Regions from separate parts of the Homo sapiens genome. Here regions 2, 3 and 4 are each linked to region 1. Evidence: promoter capture Hi-C in human tissues and cell types (Jung and others, 2019). All regions are on one chromosome and are shown on one strand. The core of a region is centred on a gene start or on the middle of the fragment in contact, and the rest is flanking DNA. Distances in the headings are between cores, read along the strand shown.

Region 1 (3,540 bases), core at 601-3,100:
AACAACAACAACAACAAAAAACTTGGTAACAGATAGGCTCCTGAATTCCTTTTAGAGCAGTTACTTTAGAAATCTTACAGTTAGGCCAGGTGCAGTGGCTCACGCCTGTAATCCCAGCACTTTGGGAGGCCGAGGCAGGCGGATCACCAGAGGTCAGGGGTTCAAGACCAGCCTGACCAACATGGAGAAATGCTGTCTCTACTAAAAATACAAAATTAGCCTGGCGTGGTGGCACATGCCTGTAATCCCAGCTTACTCAGGAGGCTGAGGCAGGAGAATCGCTTGAACCCGGGAGGCGGAGGTTGTGGTGAGCCGAGATCGTGCCATTTGCACACCAGCCTGGGCAACAAGAGCGAAATTTCGTCTAAAAAAAAAAAAAGAAAGAAAAGAAAAATAAATCTTACAGTTAAATTCTTTCTCTGCCCTTTGAGAAGCAAATCTACCACACAGAACTGTTTCTTCAAGGACTTGGGAGCTGTTTCTTTGAAATGCAAACATTCAGGGAGATAAATCTTGCTCTTTCTTTCAGATGCAGCATAAGGACCAACTTAGCTGGGTGCTTCACTTCAACTATCACCATGTCCTTCTGTCATATAGATAGGCAAAGTTTCTCTGTCCTCTGGATAAGGGCCAATTAACAAATCCAGAGAGTCTAGTCACATTAACTTTCCTTAACACCACTCAGTATCTTTTCCTTAGCAAACTCCACTTTAAAATGTCATCAGCTTTACTTTTGGGGAAGTTGAGTTCAGTTAATGCTGCACTGGTTCCTGTTGCAATAGTATTACTGAATAAAACCTGTCCTCACCACATTAACTAGTATCCAGATTTGTTGATCCTTGACAACACTCAGATGTCTCCTGCACTCTACTGGCTTCAAGGTCGGATAAATGAGTTGAACACCTCTTCAGTTTCCAGCAATGTTAGGTGTTTTCTATATTTCTTTGATTTGATCATTACTATGGAAACTGGAAGAGAGGGAAAAAAAATCAAACATCTAACATAATATTTCAGTCCCAACACCTTCCATAAGCTGTTCCTTGCAATATAAGTGTATGGAATGATGAAAGAGGCAGTGTAGCGTAACAGAAAAGACCACGAGTTTTGCAGCAAGAGTCAGCTTTGATTTGATTCCTTGCTCTAAATTTTTAAAATTAGCTTCTTAAACCTGAGAAAGAGGCTAAATTTTCTGTCTCATTTTTTCATTTGAAAATAGAAATAATAATGCCTACTATATAGACTTGGAAAAGTGAGATTGAACAAGAAAATATGTACAACATGTGGTACTTAGCTCATAGTAATTGTTCAATAAATGTTATTTTGTGTTAATATCTGATAATTCCCAAAGAGATTTGTTTTCTCTGTCTGTTGTTACAACAATGCATCTCCTCATGCCATCCCTCATTTACCTATCTATATATTTCCTTTATTAAGCAATGAGTTTCTTCATAGGTATCATTTTTCCTTGTATTGTAAGCTCCTACCAATTGAAAAGGTGGGCATCCAGTACCTGTTTATGTAATTTAAAAAATACATGAATAAATACATGAACAAAGTTATGGTAAACTTGGAGCACCAAAACTGAAATAGTTTGCATCGGTTAAATTAATTAATGTCAGACTTAGTTGTGAGAGTAATGAAGGCAGCATAAGACATTAATGTATGCATTTTTCTTACATTTGGTCTGAAACAAAGACTCATCTGCTATGCTGCCTTTTAGTTTTCCTGAGTCAGCAGTCTCAGAAACAGGATCTAAAGGTACAAATGGAAAATTACCACAGCATAGTTTCATTTCCTGCTCTTGAATATCTGGTTGAACTACTTAAGCTTAATTTGTTAAACTCCGGTAAGTACCTAGCCCACATGATTTGACTCAGAGATTCTCTTTTGTCCACAGACAGTCATCTCAGGAGCAGAAAGAAAAGAGCTCCCAAATGCTATATCTATTCAGGGGCTCTCAAGAACAATGGAATATCATCCTGATTTAGAAAATTTGGATGAAGATGGATATACTCAATTACACTTCGACTCTCAAAGCAATACCAGGATAGCTGTTGTTTCAGAGAAAGGTATATATATGTTTTTTCTAATGTGTGCCTTTAGCTCTCCCGTTTGAAAAGATATAAGGGGAGGCTAGGCATGGTGGCTCACACCTGTAATCCCAGCACTTTGGGAGGCCGAGGCGGGTGGATTGACTGAGGTCAGGAGTTCGAGGCCAGCTTGGCTAACGTGGTGAAACTCTGTCTCTACTAAAAATACAAAAATTAGCCGGGCATGGTGGTGCACGCCTGTAGTTCCAGGTACTTGGGAGGCTGAGGCAGGAGAATCACTTGAACCTGGGAGGTGGAGGTTGCAGTGAGCCAAGATCATGCCAATGCACTCCAGCCTGGGTGGCAGAGCAAGACTCCATCTCTGAAAAAAAATAAAAATAAAAACAAAACAAAAAGATATAAGGGGAGAAAATTTGAGAGCCTCGTGATGTGTATATTTTTATGGATATACTTTTAAAGGCTTCAGATGTCACTGAAGATAAATTGAATGCACCCTAAACCTTTTTTCATGAAAATTATTCAGTGACCAATTATTAGTGTTTAAATTAATTATGTCTGATGGCAGAAAATAGAATTTCTCTTTTCTATAGATATAGACATTTCATCAGTGAGGAATTGGTAATAAGTGGGATAATACACAAAGATAAAGGATTTCTGTATGAGTGACTTGTTGCTTGTTTGATAGAAAGGCTAGATTATCGAATGGAGGCCAGGAAACTTAAAGAAGTATATATATGAACAACATTTTTTTTTTGTGGTAAGAGATTAATTTAAATTGTTTTTAAACAAAAAACAATTATTGGTATACCAGTGATGGAAAATATATGAACATATGGTAGATAAAAACATCCCACCAGCAGGACATGAGTCTTAAACAAAGTGTAAATGAAATGAAATAGAAAGAAGGGCATTGGAGGATCTCTGTATTCATAGAATGGGTGATTTAGCCTACTCTACGATTCTCCTATGTGACAATTCTATGAAATGTCCTGACAGCTTAGTCACAGTGGAAAGCAGAAATACATTCTGGTTATGGCAATGTTCATACAAAATTAGTTCCCTATTATCTTTGAGAGAGAGAGATCATTTGTCGGTTTTGACACCAGAGTTTGCTTTCTTCTGCTTTCTGGTTATTCACACTGCACAAATATTTTCCTCTCAGCACTGATGTAATTCTTTTCTTGGGCAACCTATTGAGGAAGCGTGGAAAAAGTGGATGAGGCAAGAGGTAGGGAGACATGCGCATGTTTATGCATATGTGTAGGCAAACGGTATCCTGCAACAACACACCTATCATGTGCTAGCAGTCTCTAAACAAGGTGCTTTTATATGTGTTAGCTCGTTTAATTCCCGCAATAATCCTTTGAGATATTATTACCCCAGTTTCACAAAGAGGAATAAAAAACAACAAAGGGAGTAATTTGCCCAGGGTCATGCAACAAACATATGAAAAGGGAAAATTACCCTTAGTAATCAGTGCTATCTCCCC
Region 2 (3,540 bases), core at 525-3,024, 190 kb after region 1:
TTTCTACCATTTATAGCTTTGAAATCTGTGCTAATTAATTACTGAAGTCACAAGAATACATTACATAAATAAGTATAAATAATTCTTATGTATAGAATAAGGTCTATACACATACAATATATGCTTATACATGCATATGTATGTGTTTGTATATGTATTTGTGTGTGTATATATATGAAAATTTATATATATATATGAAAATTTATATATATATATATATCTCCAGGCTGGAGTGCAATGGCGGGACGCCGGCTCACTACAACCTCCGCCTCCTGGGTTCAAGCGATTCTCCTGCCTCAGCCTCCTGAGTAGCTGGGATTACAGGCGTCTGCCACCACACCAGGCTAATTTTTGTATTTTTAGTAGAGACGGGGTTTCACCATGTTGGCCAAACTGGTTTCAAACTCCTTGACTTCAGATGCTCTGCCTGCCTCAGCCTCCCAATGTGCTGGGATTACAGGCGTGAGCCACAGTGCCCGGCCGTATATGTATATTTTAAAGAGAATGTCTGTGGGGAGTAGGGTGTGTGTATAAACTTTACTTTGCGTGGTTCTAATATGCATAAACTTCACTTCTCACAGTTTAATTAAATAACTCCCCAACAGCACAGTTTAATTCTTTCAGCGTACTTATCTGTATTTGTATTATATTTACTGTAAGTAATTGTATAAAGTAGAAACTTCCATGCTAGTTTTTCAGTTCACGAATCACTATATACATGTTTGTATTGTGATTAACGACCAACCATGTCACTTTTTTCCAAGTCTGTCAATGATTGATTGGTCACCATGCATCTTTTATCAGTTAATACAGAATAAGATGGAGAGTTATTCTGTATTATTTTGTAAATGTCACATGGGTTTGTCACTGTATGACAAATTCCAAAGGAAATTTGAAACAGGAAGACAAGAAGAGGAAGGTAATTGAAACAGGAAATTGGTTAGTGACACAAAGTGCAGCAAAAAATGATGGCGCTGAAAGGGGAAATAAAATAGAAGAGAAATGAAGTTAGAGAAGCAATAGCTGTTGATAGGGTTATTAATAATTCACCTTTTGAAGAGTCTCTAGATAATGCAACCAGAGGAATTTAGTAAAGGCACACTTATTGACAAAAATAAGGTAAGTGGTTGTGATGAAAAGAATGAAGAGGTCCCAGAGGAAGTTATACGAGCTAAAGTGTTCACATCAAATGAACTCTCAATGTGTTTCCTAACATTTCAAGTGCAAAGAATAGTATATTGGAAGTCTATCCAAATTTAGGAATAAAAAAGCTTGAGAAGGCATCTAAAAGATGCTGGCTCCATATTGTAAGCGATAGAACAACAACAGCACGTACTCAATTCACACTACTCATTTTCTTTTAAGCAAAACACTTGAAACTCAGTGTTTTTAATGTTTTAATTATAGCATACTTTAAAAATATTAATTTTATTGTTGTTTACATTTCCCTATACGTTTATGAGTGACAGTAAAGTAATTTTCAATCAGGAAAAGAGGATAAAGGAAAAATCATACTTTTCCCTATTATTAAAATAGCTTGGTGTGATATCAGCTTGTGCAGTAATTTTTATTATCACACACTACAGTGCAAAATAAAAACTGCCTGTATATGAAACAAGCTTTCATTAGTTCCTATGAAAACATGTAAAAACAATGGCTTTGTTTTCCCACATTTTACTAAACACTCCACAGGTACACTTAGAACACAGTGGTTAAAAATGTAGAACAGAAAAAAGTTATTAAAAACAAGAAAATGGGGGCAGATCCACTTTGTGGCGTGAGAGAATGTGTACACTTTCCAGTGCAGGCAATTTATGTTATATACCTGTGTCCAATCGGAGATTTTTAGGGAGACAATATAAAGAAGCCGGAAAGGGAGGGTATGGGACTCCCCATTCTCTGCTCTGCGTACCAAGCAGGTGGGAGGTGAGGTGCCCATTAGGTTGAATTCTTATCGCTGTGCCCCAGCCAATCGTGGGCTGCGGAAATCATGGGCTGTAGAGTCATCGCTGCCGGGGCAGAGGCACCGTTGGTGCATGCCCGGCTGCCGTTGCTGCCCCTGCCTCGTACAAACGTCAGAGAAGGCACATGACACGCCCCTGGGGGCCATCTGGCCCAAGTCCACCTGCGCGGCTGAGTGGAGGATGCTAGGTTGCTGTGCTGTTTCTCCTACTGTCTTGCTGCCGCACCACCCCTCAGAAAAACCGGGTCGTCAGTTTCCTGCGGTTTGCACTCACCAAATATACTTAGCAATTTGCAATTCACCCGCAGGATTATTCCAGCCTCTGTGATCACACACAGAAGGATGAGCCTTCCTCGTGAGGGTTGGAGATGGAGGGAGAAGGGATGGAGAGTAAGGATGGGACGGAGGTTGTGGAGCAGCAGACCAACACGCCAGGTGGGTGAGGTTGTGTGATTATTCTAGCATCTTTTCTTGATCCTAGCTTGCACCCTTTTAGCATTGGGAGGGAAGGGCAGGGTAGGGGATAGCGACCATAATATAGATCTTAAGTAAAAGCAGTTTTCATTAATAAAACAAAGACTTCAATAATAATGATAATTGGCGATTCCAGCCTCCTCCATCATATTGGAAAAGACAGTATTTCATTAAAAATACTTGGAATTTTCCCTTGGAAAAGGCAGTATTTTATTAAAAGACGCTGCGAGGAAACTGTTGGTTTTCTGTTCTGGAAGCAGGGCAGAAGAATTAGTAACACAGTTCTGCCAAATAGCACAGGAAAGTGGAGCCAAAGCACCTTCGAGGCTCCTGATGTTCAAACGTTAGGTCTTAGTTCCCTTTCTTATTTTTCTAATACATTAATTGCTGAATTGTGAACAGTAGAACACGCGGAAGATAGAGAAAAGAGATAAACATGATGGGTTTTTTGTTGGTTTGCTTGCTTTTTTTCTCTCTGGAACATAAACAATGACATCTGTTTCTCTTTGGTATAATAGAAAGGAAAATAATGATCATCTCAATTTTTATATGTGGAGGCATTGCTTTTCTTCTTTGGGGGATTTTAAGATTTCCCAGAAAATGTAAGTAAACAATTTCTGCTAAAATTATTAAATTAAATTGTTAAAATTATTGTATTATTGATTCAGTTGGATACCAATAACTAGTCTTTCCTTCCTTAATATAGAACAATTTAGAGATAAAAGCATTTTCCAAGACAGTGCATCTAATTGCTCTTCAAACTTAGTCACCTGCTTCACCTTCTAGAATAATCAGTCTTTCAATAAATATGTATCAAGCTTTAGGCACAGTGCTGCCTGCTGATGATATAACAATGAAAAAAAATGGTATTTCTTGCCTGAAAGTAGTTTATCTTTAACTGAATATGGAAGCATGTAAGCAAACAACTGTAACACAAAAGAAATAATTACTAAATAGAACTATGTTGAATTTGAAGCAGGAGAGGAGATTATAAGTTAGCTGCTTGTAGTCAAGGCTTTAATGAAGGGAGAAATATTTGTGCTGAATCTTAAACTCAAGTAGGCGTTTATCAAAGATCATCTTAGAACACACATGTCAGAGAA
Region 3 (3,540 bases), core at 354-2,853, 160 kb after region 1:
TTCTGCCAGATATCCTAAATCATCCCTCTCAAGTTCAATGTTCCACAAATTTCTAGGGCAGGAGCAAAATGCTACCAGTCACTTTGCTAAAACATAACAAGAGTCACCTTTGCTCCCGTTCCCAACAAATTCCTCATCTCCATCTGAGACCACCTCAGCCTTATCACCATTTTTGTCAAAGCCATTCAAGAAGTCTCTAGGAAGTGCCAAACTGTCCCACATTTTTCTGTCTTCTTCTGAGCCCTCCAAAGTATTCCAACCTCTGCCTGTTGCCCAGTCCCAAAGTCTCTTTCAGATTTTTGGGTATCTTTACAGCAGCGCCCTACTCTATTGGTACCAATTTACTGCATTAGTTCATTTTCACACGACTGATAAAGACATACCCACAACTGGGTAATTTATAAGTAAAAAGAGGTTTAATGGACTCATGGTTCCATGTGGCTGGAGAGGCCTCACACTCATGGTGGAAGGTGAAAGGCACATCTCACATGGCCACAGACAAGAGAGAACTTGTGCAGGAAAACTCCTCTTTATAAAACCATCAGATCTCATGAGACTTATTCACTATCACAAGAACAGCATGGGAAAAACCCGCTCCCATGATTCAATTACCTCCCACCATGTCCCTCCTACAGCATGTGGGACTTATGGGAGCTACAATTCAAGATGAGATTTGGGTGGAGACACAGTCAAACCATATCAGTATGTTTTGGTTTGAATTCTGGTTCTGCTGCTTATTGCTTGTGAAACCTCGGGAAAATTATTTAACACCTTTTAACATCTCTGTGTCTGAGTTTCAATATGGTTAAAGCATGGGAGACAGAAAGACTGCAAAGTATCAGACACTAAATAATTTAATATTTATAATGCAATTAGAACAGAACTGGCACAGAGAAAACACTTGAAAATTGTATTTAAATATATATTTATATGTGTATTTAATGAGATGAGGCTGTCTGGAGAGAGAGACAATTTTAGAAGAAAAATAAATATTACTATTTTTGACATTTTAAGTTTAAAATGAGATTAGAACTCCTTATGGAAATGTGAAAGTGGCACATGTATTTTCTAGTCTTGAGATTCAGGGAAAGGTCATACAGAGATATTGGGGAGTCACTCTATTTAAAGTCAAACAACTGAATGAGGTAGATTAGAAGAGTGTACTGAGTGATGCAATAAAACGGGACCCAGGACAGGGCTTCAGAGTATTCCATCTTGTAGAGTTTCATCTAGGAGGAGGAATCAACAAAGAATGAGGAGAGGCAGGCATGGTGACAGGAGAAGCCATGAGGATGTGTCAGGAGGGATGTGCAAAGAAAGCATTTAGAGGACTGTTCAACTTTTTCAATGCTGCAGGGAAGTGAAGTAATGGAAGAGACATGTGACTATTGGGATGAAACAGGCAGGACATCAGTGACCTAAAGCTCAGTCTCTATGGCACCAAGGGGGCAGAAGCCTAATAGAGTTGGTTGAGAACAGAATGAGAGGTGAAGAACTGAGAGTCAGTGGCCAAAGAAAATGCTTTCAAAAGTTGAGTTGTGAAAGGAAACAAAGAAGTTAAATAATAATGGAAAGGCTTAAGTGGTCAAGCAAGGATTGTGTTTTGTTATAAAAGGAGTAGCAGAGTATATTGGTGAGTAGTAGAGTATGTTGGTGCACCAAAAAGGAAAAGCAGAGAAGGAAGAGAGAATAATGACACAGGAGAGAAAGGAAAAAATTACGGAAGTCTGTCTTTGAAAACGACACATGGACTGAAATTCAGAGCAAAATGAGGAGCCGTCCCTTCATAAGTACATACTTATCGTAAATACTATCTGGAAGGAAAGCAGAGTATCAGTAAGGACATGGTAGGATAGACATTTAAATAACAACAAAAAAAAGTGTAGATGGATGCTTTTTTCTTACCAGAGGAAAGGTGAGAGTAACTGGGGTTGAAAATTTGTGTATTTTTCACCAGCAATATTCAACTCTGGGGCAGACTGGGTGGATATTCGGGTTTAACCAGAACTGGAGTTGTTTTTATTTGTTTGTTTTTGGGGTTTTTGTCTTGTTTTGTTTTGATTTGTTTGAGGCAGGATCTTGCTGTGTCACCCAGACTGGAGTACACTCGCCTGATCTTAGCTTACTAGAGCCTCCAACTCCTGGACTCAAGTAATCCTCTTTCCTCAGCCTCCCAAGCAGCTGAGACTATGGGTGCCCAGTTAATTAAAAAAATTTTTTTTTTATAGACATGGCATATCTCTACTTTCCCCAGGCTGGTCTCAAACTTCTGGCCTCAAATAATCCTCCCATCTTGGCCTCTCAAAGTGCTAGGACTATGGGTATGAGCCACTGCACCTAGCCAGAGCTGGAGTTTTTAAGGAAAAATTAACACACATTGAAGAGGAGAAGTGTAAGAGACTAAGAGTAGACATTACATAATACAATGTTATATTACATAATGTAGATTCTAAGCTCGATAATGAGAAAATTAGATGAGATTAAGAACATGAAGAAGACATGGATTCAATATTTCCGTGAATTCAGGGAATTCTTGTGGTGGGAACTTAAGGTGGATTGGCAGGAAAAGAGGTGGGAAAGGGTGTGAGAGGACAAGTAAAGGGCAATTGTTGGTAATATTAGGCTCATGATATGCCCATTCTCTTTCAGTGTATAAAAGAAGAAATATAAACAAGGAAATAAAGACAGAAAATATTGTAAAATTCTTAAACCCTTCTTCTTTCTAAAAAAAAATTTCAGTATTAAAAAAGAAGCCAACAGAATTAATCTGCTATCCTTTCTCAAGATTTACAATGCTCATCATAAATGGATCCAAGATGTAACAGTGAAATTTCTGTTTATAGCAATGCTAGAATATTAAAGATGTTATATTCTGTGTGGGGAGAGGAGAGAGGACAACAACTTAAATAATATGTGAGAATTTTGGCACTCTTCTCTCCTTATTTTTCTGTTTCTATCACCCTTCTTTGTGTTCTCCACTATCACTGTTTAAGTTATTTTTAACTCAAATACACTGATTTAAACTATGGATTCGCTAGGGCAGATTTCACTCCCAAAAGGCTAGGAGCCAGAAGGCAAGAACCATACATAATAGGAAAACTATAGGATTCTGAGTAAGATGAAGAGTAGTTTTGTTTAAGTGAAAGTCAACACAGATGGACCACTTATTTCATGATTTTAATTTGAATTGAAAAATACAAAGTTACTTGATATAATGTGGTTTTGAATATTATGAATATATTATGTCTTCTGATATTTCTTTACCTCTTTTCTTCCTTTATTCCTTAATGATTCATTTCATTTAACTTAACATGTTTTATTTTTTAGTAAGTTAGTAAAAAATCTCCAAAAGAAGTAGGAGAAATTTTAGGGTGATTTATGCTTAGTTTGGTAGATAGTCAAATGAAATCCTATAAAGGTCTCTCTGTCTGACACAAAGCATTTTCTTATAAAAAAAAAAACACACACACACACACACATATGAAATCATGACTTTCCTGAACATGTTTCTTTTTCCATGGCTTCATCTCATAAAGAAAT
Region 4 (3,540 bases), core at 425-2,924, 140 kb after region 1:
AGTCTCAACATCTTTTGTTCATCCTGTATATCAAAACTGCAGTCTCTCTTCAATTAAAATTTAAACTGATAACCAAAACTTATATAATCTGATTATTACTCAAATTATGAATTAAATTTTTAAACAAATATTTATTAAGTATTTACTATAGATAGGATCTTAGGATACTACAACTACAAGCAAGCCTCTTCACAGACCTTGGGCTTTATCTCCTATCTCCTATTGCTTGCTGCCTCATTTACAATATTGCAGGCAACTTAGTGTTCTTTACATTCTTCCAACAAATCAAACTCGTTTTGTTACCTTAAGGCTTTTGTCTTGCTATTTTCTTCTAGAATGCTCTGCCTCCACAACTCCATGACCATCTCTCCACTGAGACTCAAGTCTCTATTTAAACATCACTTCTTCAGTGAACCTAACTCTACCCAAACTAAATTAGCCTCCCTTAAACCCATATCCATACAGTCCACCACTGTTTTGTTTCTTTGTAACTCTTACCACTGTCTCAATTTTTCTTGTCTATTTTTTGTGGGCTTCTTACCGGTATCGCCCCACTTAAATGAAAGTTCCCCAACAAGAAAGACATTAGCTTTCTTGTCTTTCTTTATCAGTGTATCCTCAGCACATAGAACAACTTTGTCACATAGTTCTGCAGGTATTCTCCAAATAAACCAATAAGTATATATTCCTTGTCATCTCATTATAAGCAGTTTAGAAAGAAAGAAATATAACTTAACAGACAATTACAATACAGCCTGCTGTGTTAGATGATTTATCTTGCAACATAAATCCTGATTTCAAAACTACTGAATCAACTCACTTTTCCATGAGCGTATTCCCATCTAGTGCAGCTACTTGTCCTGTAGGGCTCTTCCATCTCCTGTCAGTTCATCTGAGTCCTGACCTTCCATCAATACCGAACTAAAGTCTGATCTTGTAGATAATGCGTTTTCCCATTATTTTGGAGCCATCTCCATCACTTCTTCAGGGCTCCTATTGTACCTACTGTTCCCTTGCTCCTAATTTTATGCTAAATGAAATTGATATTGGGCTTTTTAAATATGCATATCTTGTACTGCCAAGCAGGGTGGAACTTTCTCAACAATGAGAATCGTTTTTTTTTTTGTTTTTTTTTCCTATTTTCCTCAGTCTCTATTTGGTGCATCAAACTACTATACGCAGAGTCTGATTACTGATTGTTTGCTCAGTTTTCAAAGGAATTTATTCTAACTTTCCCTTCACAGGTTTGAGTTTTTGGAAGATGGAAAAGGAAATATGAATTGTGCTTATTTTCATAATGGGAAAATGCACCCTACCTTCTGTGAGAACAAACATTATTTAATGTGTGAGAGGAAGGCTGGCATGACCAAGGTGGACCAACTACCTTAATGCAAAGAGGTGGACAGGATAACACAGATAAGGGCTTTATTGTACAATAAAAGATATGTATGAATGCATCAGTAGCTGAAAATTGCTTATTTCTCCCTTTCTTCTCACTGGAGTTATTTTTAATATTATCTTTCCTATCAGAATTACCTAGTCCCTTCTTTGAATATACAGAAGCCATCACGTGAGTTTATCATTTGCTTCCCAATTGTTCTATTTTCCTTTAATTTTCTTTCTTCTTGTCCTTCATTTCTAATTACCTGAACATGGTATGATTTACTGCATCTTCAGATATACACATATAACATCAAAATCAGGCCAATATAGGTTAGGGCTTAATTAATATAAGTTGTGCAAAATATCTATGTTTGAAATCTGTCCAAAATATCTAAGTTTGAAAGGCGGTGTAAGATAGTAAAAAGAATATTAAACTTAGAATCAGCAAAATAATTTAGATGTCAATTAACTAAATTACAATCATGAACAAGTTTCATAACCTCTTTAACTTCCCTTTTCTCATATTTAAAATAGGAATAATAACAACCATCTTTTATATCTCACAGTTCTACAACCTAAAATAGAACTTTAGAGTGTTAACTGTACCAGAAACTCCATGAAAGCGAACACTATGACTTCCCCATTCACTATTCTCTTACCAGCACCAACCCGAAACCCTGGCTCACAAAACAGAGAGATATTTGTTTCTCTTTGTATAAGATAGTTCATGAGAAAAATAGCTCAATCATTAAAACATTACGCAAATAGAATTACTATTCCAAGTCTACCTCTGGTTAGATTCAACAGTAGTAATTTTCTGCGCTAGAGAAGGAAAAGAAAGTTTGCAAGAAAACTCACTGGGTTTGTAAAATGAATAAATGCTTCTTAAGTTTCAGAGGCTACTAGACAGAAGGACAAGTAAAAATGCTTTAATTAGTATTTTCCTAACAGTTCTGTGCTTTATTTTTGCTGAGTAACTCAGGAAGTATTTACAGAATATGTGGAAAGGCACCCTTTTACAGGATAATAGGAAAAAATTGCATTTCTTTCCCACAGCTTCCCTTTTTTAACTAGTGGCTACCATTTACGAACATGATTCTCAAACATCTCAACGGAGGTTTTGGTTAAAACATAGAGAAACCAAATAGGAAACTCAAATGCTGATGTTACTCAGTGGGAAGACTGAGGAGACACAGAGACCTGGGTTTTTACCAGCATCACGACACAATTCTCATACAAGTAGTCTTTAATACAGTTAGAGAAATATCACTACTTTAGAACTTACTCTCTATCTGGCTTTGGATAAGTAATGTTCTCACCTTGAAATGGGTTTAATATTATTACCTTGCTCATAAGTTAATTGTGAAGCTCATTTAATATGATTATATAAAGTATCGATCAGAATACCAAGTATGTAATACATACTCAATAAATATGTGTTACTCTTAAAGCTTTGTGCGCTAACACTGAAAGACACTTGAATCTTTATCTTTTTTCTAGCCTATCAATAATTAAGCAGATTTGGAGGGCTTAGGAAAAATAATAGAAATACCTCAAATTTTACTTGTTACTTCAAATGTCTGGAGATCTTGGATTTGGGTGATGGTATCAGTATGTTTTTTATTTTGAATTGTCTATTTAGAGAAACTAAATAGGAACCAATAATTCAGAAAACTGTACAAAATTAGCAACTCAACTTTGTTTCATCTCCCTAAAATGGAAAAACATATGTGTATACATCCCTATAGCACACATAAACTTAGAAGAATAATATCTTAGTGCATGGCAACAATACAATTAAAAATGTAGGCCAATCACTGTGATTCTTTTTCTGGTATTCATATCTAAAGTATCTTATACATAAAATCAAAATAGCACAAACGTTAGTAGCACAGATCAGACCACCTCATTTCAAATACTAAATCTTCTACATGTCATCTAAGTGAACTCCAGCAAAATTTGACTTCTGTCTTCTTCAATTTAAAACTAACTTACAGGCATGCCTCGGAAATATTGTGGGTTCAGTTCCAGACCACCACAATAAAGCAATTATTGCAATAAAGTGAGTCACATTAATTATTTGCTTTCCCAATTCGTGTAAAAGTTATGTTTGAGCTACAACGTCTTCTATTAAGTATACAACAGCATTATGTCTGG

The links. The method cuts DNA at HindIII sites, captures the fragments that hold promoters and counts their contacts. A contact is called where the count stands out against the background at its distance.
Region 2: a contact is called between a fragment that was not itself captured here and the fragment with the promoter of CLEC7A in region 1, in 3 of the 25 tissues and cell types used here (lymphoblastoid cells, mesendoderm cells and thymus).
Region 3: a fragment that was not itself captured here is called in contact with the fragment with the promoter of CLEC7A in region 1 in 2 of the 25 tissues and cell types used here (H1 embryonic stem cells and mesendoderm cells).
Region 4: a contact is called between a fragment that was not itself captured here and the fragment with the promoter of CLEC7A in region 1, in 1 of the 25 tissues and cell types used here (mesenchymal stem cells).

Annotation. Positions count from the first base shown.
Region 1 is chr12:10,128,509-10,132,048 of GRCh38, reverse strand. It overlaps CLEC7A (C-type lectin domain containing 7A), which reads left to right and starts at 1,850. Exons shown (of 6, transcript NM_197947.3): 1 at 1,850-2,069. The coding sequence starts at 1,967. LOC105369655 (a long non-coding RNA gene) reads right to left here. Exons shown (of 4, transcript XR_007063208.1): 2 at 809-968; 3 at 257-364. The HindIII fragment of the contact is 18,210 bases long and covers 1-3,540 here.
Region 2 is chr12:9,941,988-9,945,527 of GRCh38, reverse strand. It overlaps LINC02470 (long intergenic non-protein coding RNA 2470), which reads left to right and starts at 2,033. Exons shown (of 5, transcript NR_104634.2): 1 at 2,033-2,398; 2 at 2,956-3,039. The HindIII fragment of the contact is 3,847 bases long and covers 1-3,540 here.
Region 3 is chr12:9,971,982-9,975,521 of GRCh38, reverse strand. All of the region lies in intron 1 of CLEC12A (C-type lectin domain family 12 member A), which reads right to left. Among named protein-coding and RNA genes, the nearest start is that of CLEC12A, 2.3 kb to the right of the region's middle. The HindIII fragment of the contact is 8,813 bases long and covers 1-3,540 here.
Region 4 is chr12:9,990,992-9,994,531 of GRCh38, reverse strand. CLEC1B (C-type lectin domain family 1 member B) reads left to right here. Exons shown (of 6, transcript NM_016509.4): 6 at 1,245-1,457. The coding sequence ends at 1,389. It also overlaps a transcript of CLEC12A not described here. Among named protein-coding and RNA genes, the nearest start is that of CLEC1B, 6.4 kb to the left of the region's middle. The HindIII fragment of the contact is 4,209 bases long and covers 1-3,540 here.